Regions from separate parts of the Homo sapiens genome. Here region 2 is linked to region 1. The links are contacts of gene promoters, found by promoter capture Hi-C in human tissues and cell types (Jung and others, 2019). All regions are on one chromosome and are shown on one strand. Each heading gives the region's core, a stretch centred on a gene start or on the middle of the fragment in contact. The rest is flanking DNA. Distances are from core to core; before and after follow the strand shown.

What was found. Contacts are between HindIII fragments. The study calls those that stand out against the background at their distance.
Region 2: a fragment that was not itself captured here is called in contact with the fragment with the promoter of CES3 in region 1 in 1 of the 25 tissues and cell types used here (spleen).

The regions. Positions count from the first base shown.
Region 1 is chr16:66,959,482-66,963,046 of GRCh38, forward strand. It overlaps CES3 (carboxylesterase 3), which reads left to right and starts at 1,785. Exons shown (of 13, transcript NM_024922.6): 1 at 1,785-1,908. The coding sequence starts at 1,827. RefSeq lists enhancers at 1,427-1,676, 1,481-1,982, 1,767-1,976. The HindIII fragment of the contact is 25,956 bases long and covers 1-3,565 here.
Region 2 is chr16:67,288,395-67,292,222 of GRCh38, forward strand. It overlaps PLEKHG4 (pleckstrin homology and RhoGEF domain containing G4), which reads left to right. Exons shown (of 22, transcript NM_001129729.3): 20 at 1-6; 21 at 95-210; 22 at 409-1,086. The coding sequence ends at 414. KCTD19 (potassium channel tetramerization domain containing 19) reads right to left here. Exons shown (of 16, transcript NM_001100915.3): 13 at 3,252-3,443; 14 at 2,915-3,069; 15 at 2,491-2,592; 16 at 1,038-1,288. The coding sequence ends at 1,175. Among named protein-coding and RNA genes, the nearest start is that of PLEKHG4, 11 kb to the left of the region's middle. The HindIII fragment of the contact is 4,855 bases long and covers 1-3,828 here.

The DNA.
Region 1 (3,565 bases), core at 535-3,034:
CCCATCCACAATGCTAGGAGGGAAGGCAGACCTAGCTGCAGGGAGTTGGGAAACGTGGCCTTGGGAGCAGATGGAGAGCTCTCCTGGCAGCATCTATACCCGAAGATGGAAGGTAAGATTGTGGGCGGAGAAGAGATCCAGGTGCCTTGATGTGAGTGTTGAAGGTGGAAAGCATGCCAGAGCCAGGTGCTAAAATCTTCAGCAAATGATCAAGGGGGTGTGGCTGGGGGGTGGCAGGGCTGTGATGGCAACAAGAAGAGGAAGGTGGAATAGGGAAGGACAAAGTCTGGAGGCAGCTCTGAAAAGGAGACCCCACCCCAGGCTGCCGGGGAAGATTCAGGAAGCTGCAATGGTTTTTTATGAATTTTTTTTTAGAGAGAGAGTCTTGCTATGTTGCCCAAGCTGGCCTCAAGCTCCTGGGCTGAAGCAATCCTCCTGCCTCAGCCGCCTGAGTAGCTGGGACTACAGACTTGTGCCACAATGCCCAGCTGGCACTAGTTATTTTTGGCAGAAGGGAAGTTTCATCCTAAAGCCTGTCTCTTCAGCTCTGGGTGCCAGCTGGAGCCCCGGAAGAGGATCTGGCATCGTGTTTAGGCACAACCCTCACTCTGTCTTTCACTGGGCCAGCAAATATCTATCCATCCTCCCACCGCCTACTCCCAGCCAGCCATGTTCCTGACACTGAGGCCCAGAAGTGAGTCCTGCCCTCCCTGGGGGTGGGAGCCTCCTAAGCCAGCAGAGAGACAGATGCCCTGCAGATCCCCGCCCCGGTCAAGAGCAGGCTTCCATCAGTTCTGGTTCCCAGACTCTCCTCTCCTCAGGCTTCCATGAGTTCTGGTTCCAAGCCCCTCCCCTCCTCTCCCCTCCCCTCCCTCCCTCCCTCCCTCTCTCTCTTTCTTTCTCTCTCTATTTTTCTTTTTTCTCTTTTTGTTTCTTTCTCTTTTTCTGTCTCTTTTTCTTTCTCTCTCTCCTTTCTCTCTCTCCTTCTTTCTCTCTCTCCTTTCTTTCTTCTCTCTCTCTCTTTCTCTCTTTCTTTGTCTTGCTCTATAGCCTAGCCTAGAGTGCAGTGGCATTATCACAGCTCACTGCAGTCTCGACAACCTGGGCTCAAGTGATCCTCTCACCTCAGCCTCCCAAGTAGCTGGGACCACAGGCATGCACCATCACACCTGGCTAATTTTTTTTATTTTTTCTAGAGACGTGTCTCCCTGTGTTGCCCAGGCTGGTCTCAAACTCCTGGGCTCAAGCGATCTTCCTGCCCCATCCTCCTAAAGCACTGGGATTACAGGTATGAGCCACCACACCCAGTCCCAAGCCTCATGTTTTCACACACACACTCACACACACATGCAAACATGTACCCTCACTTCAATGCTATGAGGTGGGTCCTATTATCATCACTGTTTTATTTTCTTTCACATTTTAACATGAGATTTGGAGGGGACAAAACATCCAAACCATATCAAGCCCTCACCTCAGGCTGGGTTGCCCACTCGGAGTGGCACCCCAGGGTCACTGGCCACCACTTCCTAGGGTCAGTGATGTGGTCACCTTGGGATGAACGCACAGGATTTCATGGAGATCACCAAGTCAGGAGAGCTGGAATTTGAAAACAGTGGGACGGGGAGGGCTGTCATATCAACCAGGCCTCTGCAGGGCACTCATCTAGCCCTGCCTCTGGCTCAGCCTGAGCATGGGGCTGGCCACCAGCTAGGTGGCGCTGTCCTTGGAGGTTCTATATCACAGCCCTTTAGAGATCGGTGGTGCTGAAGGGCAGGGATCTTATTCCACCTTCTGAAGCTTCTGTCGAACCAGTTGTAAGGAGAATGGAGAGAGCAGTGAGAGTGGAGTCCGGGGTCCTGGTCGGGGTGGTCTGTCTGCTCCTGGCATGCCCTGCCACAGCCACTGGTAAGACACACCTGCTGGGCCTGCAGAGGTACTTGGTGTGGAGGAGTCAAGAGTGAGACAGGGACAGGGAGCAGTGGGCCGACCGCTCAGGAAACAGTCCTGTTTGGAGGCAGACCAGGGGTTGTGCATTCTCTCTGGGCAGGCGCTCTGCTCTTGCTGTATTTGTTTCGTTGTTTTTGTTGTTGTTGTTTGAGACAGAGTTTTGCTCTTGTTACCCAGGCTGGAGTGCAATGGCGCGATCTCGGCTCACTGCAACCTCCGCCTCCTGGATTCAAGCGATTCTCCTGCCTCAGCCTCCTGAGTAGCTGGGATTACAGGCACCTGCCACCATGGCCGGCTAATTTTTGTATTTTTAGGAGAGATGGGGTTTCACCATGTGGGCCAGGCTGGTCTCAAACTCCTGACCTCAGGTGACCCACCTGCCTCGGCCTCCCAAAGTGCTGGGATTACAGGCGTGAGCCACCGCACCTGGCCTGTCTTTATGTCTTAAGGGGGCCTGAGATTTGTTTTAATGAAGTATAGTAAGACAAGCAGATATGCAAATGACTATCATGAGGGAAGGAGTTTGCTCGTAGTTCCCTGTGAACAGGAAGCAGGCCATGCCACATAGGGCCACAGAGGGAAGCACCAGGTGGCATCAGCCAGGAGGCAGAGGGAGCAGGGGGAAAATGTGGGCAAGCCCCTTTGACACGGTTGCCACGGGAAGGAATAGGCAAGGCAGGCTAAAGAGGTTTACGATTGGCAGCAGGCTCTGGGGAAAGGGGCTGTCCCCAGCCAGCTTCCTGGTACCCGGCTCTGTGGTGATTATGGCTGGTGGATGGCAGCCAGGAGCTGAGAGCTGTATAAAGGAGGTGGTTGGGTATGGCTCTGGACTGGTTTGCCTTTGCTCCCTAGAGAGATGCCTGCCAATTCCACCTCCCCAGAGAGCTGCCTCCTATCTCTAGGAATTGTCTAGCCTGGGAGAGGCAGTCCTCCAGTCTTAGTCTGTTTGTGTTGTTGTAAAAGAATACAGGAAGCTGGGTAATTCACAAAGAAAAGAAGTTTAGTTAGGCCACAGTTCTGCAGGCCGTACAAGAAACATGGTGCCAGCTGGGCATGATGGCTCACACCTGTCGTCCCAGCACTTGGGGAGGCTGAGGTGAAAGGATTGCTTGAGCCCAGGGGTTTGAGACCAGCCTGGGCAACATAATGAGACCCCATCTCTACTTTTTAAAAAATAATTCAGGGCTGGGCATGATGGCTCATGCCTGTAATGCCAGCACTTTGGGAGCCCCAGGTGGATGGATTACTTGAGGTCAGGAGTTCGAGACCAGCCTGGCCAACATGATGAAACCCCGTCTCTACTAAAAATACAAAAATTAGCCAGGCGTTGTGGTGCACACCTGTAATCCCAGCTACTTGGGAGGCTGAGGCCCTGGAGTCGCTTGAACTCGGGAGTCAGAGGTTGCAGTGAGCCAAGATCGTGCCACTGCACTCCAGCTTGGTCAACAGAGCTAGACCCTGTCTCAAACACAAAAAATAAAAACAAAGAAATGGGCAAGTGGCTGGCCCCAAGGCACAAGGCCCTAGTGGCAGGCCCGGTCTGGCCTGGAGTGGAGTGGTAGTGACTCTCAGGCAGGCAGGGAGGAGGAAGTTGGGCGTCAACCTAAGACCAGGC
Region 2 (3,828 bases), core at 555-3,054, 330 kb after region 1:
CTTTGAGTATGTCTGGGCCTAGCCAGAGGCAGGAGGGCATGGCTTGGGGTCTGGGGCTTCCCGTGCTGACAGTTCACCCAGTCTCCCTCCCTAGCTGCTGAGGACTCAGAGATCTCGTCCCAATGCCCATCAGCCAGTGGCTCCAGTGGCTCTGACAGCAGCTGTGTGTCAGGGCAGGCCCTGGGTAGGGGCCTGGAGGACTTACCCTGTGTGAGTGCCATTTGCCCTATACCCACCAGCCCTTCCCCAGCCCAAGCTGAGCCTGTGACTGTGACCAGCCCCTCCCCAGCCCAGGCTAGGCCTTTACTTTGGGTAGAGCTTGGGGTGGGTGGGCCAGAGCCATTCCCCAGACACCTCCTGGGTCCAGAGTCAGGGAAGCAGGCATTCATGCCTGGCCTGGCCCTGCAGGTCTGAGCCCGGGACTGGACGAGCAGTAGATCCAGCAGCCTGCAGCTCCAAGGAACATTGCCTCTCTGGATCTGCTGTGACCAGGGTGTGGCTGACACCTGGGCTACCTCCAACCTACATGTGCAACGCTGTTGACTACCCTTTCTGATGTGTGTGGCCATTGGACTAACTGGCACGGGGCCTCTCTAGGGAAGTCTGGTTGTAGAGCCTGAATAGGCTCCTGGCCCCATGACCCCTTCTCCTGTCCCCAGCTCCCATCCCAGTTGTGGGTTAAGAATAGGCTAGAGCAGACATTGGGTGTTTCCATGCTGTAGGCTGGTGGGGGACCATGTGCCTCTAGGCAGTGACTAGGGTGCCCCCACCCCTCAGGAAGAACACAGGTGGGCTCCTAGCAGCTGATCCCCAATGCCTGGCCTTAAAGCCGAGCTCAGTTACCATAGGGACAGGTCCACCTCTACTGGGCCCTCATGCTTGCCTTTCCTGGCCCCCAGGCCCAGCCCCTTTTTACTGGGGCAGTTTCGTTATTTTGACTTGATGCCTTTTGAATAACTTTCAATAGAATTGTCTAAAATTATCTTACTGGTTGTTAGGCCTTTGGTGTCTCAGAGAAGGAGTCTAGGTCTTTGATGTGTGATTTAATCTTTTATTTGTTTATAATAAAAAATAGACTGATATGTACCCTCTGATGGGCACATGCATTCTGGGCTATCTCCAATTAAAATGAGACTTGGCGGGTGGGGCATGAGGGGCTGCATCTCTGGGCACCCTAGTCCTCTTGTAGGTACTTTCCCAGGATGGAGTAAGAGACAGACCTAGACAGGCCCCTCTGGATGAGCAGGTCCATGCATCGGCCATATTTCCTGGCGAAGGGCAGTGTAAGCTGGAAGGAAAGGCCAGTCTTATCCCTGATTTCCTGGCCAGTTGTCTACTCTAGCTCCATGTGGGTGGGGTTCTCCCATTGGGGCAGGGACAGGGCAAGCCCGGCTGTTGGGGACTTTTGATGCTCTAGGGCCCAGCTCTGCCCCAGGGCATCTCACAGGGTGGGGCTAGAAATGGCTATCAGGGAACAAAGCAGAAAGACCGGAGGTTCAAAAATCTGTTTCCTGCTACTGGTTTTCTGCTTTTTAGCCATACATGCTGACTTCACCTTTACAAACCACATATGAGCCAGATGCCTAATGGTAACTGGGTACTAGAGGGCTTGTGGTGAAAGGTGTTATAATAATGCTCTTGATTATAGAAGTGTCAGATCAATGAGAAACTGCCTAAATCGTTTCGGCCTCAATGTTAAAATTAGATTAAGGAATCAGAAAAGGAAAAAGAAAAAAACCCTTGATCATTCCTTTGCCCTTACTGAATATTTTCTTTTTTTTTTTTTTTTTTTTTTTTTTTTGAGACGGAGTCTCGCTCTGTCACCCAGGCTGGAGTGCAGTGGCACGATCTCGGCTCACTACAAGCTCCGCCTCCCGGGTTTACGCCATTCTCCTGCCTCAGCCTCCTGAGTAGCTGGGACTACAGGCGCCCACCACCACGCCTGGCTAATTTTTTTGTGTTTTCAGTAGAGACGGGGTTTCACTGTGTTAGCCAGGATGGTCTCGATCTCCTGACCTCATGATCCACCCGCCTCGGCCTCCCAAAGTGCTGGGATTACAGGCGTGAGCCACCGCGCCCGGCCTAAGAATGCTTAAAAGTAGTTTAGAAATGAAAGGAATGTACACAATTGGTGACATCGTGGCCAGATAGGTGAAGCTGGTATCACTGGTTGAAAAGGCCTCACTCCCATATGAGTCAAAGCTTGGGCTCATATGATATGTGTCCCTAAGTGTGGCCAGGGTTGTTAGTGATGAAGGCACAGCTGGTATCATTGGAGGAAAACTGTAAAAACCAGTGGCCTGAATACTGCTTTTGGACTACTCTGGATTGGTTAATTTCATGCAGTTTCTCCCTCCCTGGGAGCAGTGGCCTAAGCTGCCTGTCTAGCCTTCTGGGCAGTGCTGGCCCAGCCCTGGTGCAGCAAGACACACGTCCATCTGAGGCATCCACAGGGTCGGTGGATTCCCAGGGATTGCAAGTGGCCCTCACCTCCACCCAGCTGTACAGGCGCTCCTGGGTGTGCCGGTCATCCTTGAAGCCGGTGATGGCCAGCAAATCTACCACAAACTGCTTGGGGCTGATGTGCAGGGTCTGCCAGGAGAGCCCACAGTCAGGCAGTGCTAGGGCAGCTCCTAGCCCCTCAGAGTGAGATGCAGAGCGGGGACTTCTCTGGGCCCACAGAGCCACAGGGGTAGGGGGCGGGCACTGTCACTGCAAATCTGCCTCTTGGCCGAGGCTCAGTCCAGGTGCAACTGCTCTGCTTGCCTCCCTGTCCCACCACTCTTCTGGCCCTGGCCTTCTCCTTAACCCCATCTTGGCTTACTTCCTCTTGCCTTGCACCACTTATTGTGGGGCAGGGGAAGAGGTGGAGAAGGTACAGGGTGCCCCAGGGCCTGAGGCCTGTCACACATACCCACAGCCGATTGGCCAGGGAGACCACCTTGGCTGTGATGGCTTTGGGGTCCTTTTGCCTGATGGAATCCATGATGATGTCAGCCAGGAAGCAGTGACATTTCTGTGCATAAAACATCTCTTCCCAGGACAGAGAGAAACTCAGGAAAGTCACTTCTGTGGAGGAGGGAAAGTGGATGTGGCCACATCTGTCAATAGCTAGGGCCTTAGAGACAGTGTGAGGAGGGGGAGAGGGGTAGGGCCCCCAGGGGCCACTGTCTCTGCCTGAAGTACCCTGGGAGGGGGCTCAGGCATCCTCACGAGGAGGCGCAGGGCTCGGCCTGGCTCCAGAGCCTCACCTTGGGGCTGGGGACTGGCTGTGGGTGTTGTGTGCCTGAGGTTGTCCATCTCCGTGGTATAGATGATGCTGTCCTCAAAGAACATGCAGAAGCCATCGCTGCCCACCACGGGGGGGTGAGTCACTTTGAGGATAACCCCTAGGCTGTCCACCTCACTGGCCTCGGGCAGAGGCTGCTCAGGGGCAGGGCTTTCTGTGAAAACAACATAGGGAGGGGGCTCTCCTTTTAAAAAAAAATTTTTTTTCAAGATAGAGTTTTGCTTTTGTTGCCCAGGCTGGAGTGCAATGGCACAATCTTGGCTCACTGCAACCTCTGCCTCCCAGGTTCCAGCGATTCTCCTGCCTCAGCCTCCTGAGTAGCTGGGATTACAGGCACCTGCCACCACGCCCGGCTAATTTTTGTATTTTTGGTAGAGATGGGGTTTCACCAGGCTGGTCTCGAACTCCTGACCTTAGGTGATCCACCCGCCTCAGCCTCCCAAAGTGCTGGGATTACAGGCGTGAGCCACACGCACAGGCTTTTAAAATTCTTTTCTTCAATTACCATCAAATCTTCATAAGCAGGGACTCTCCTTAAG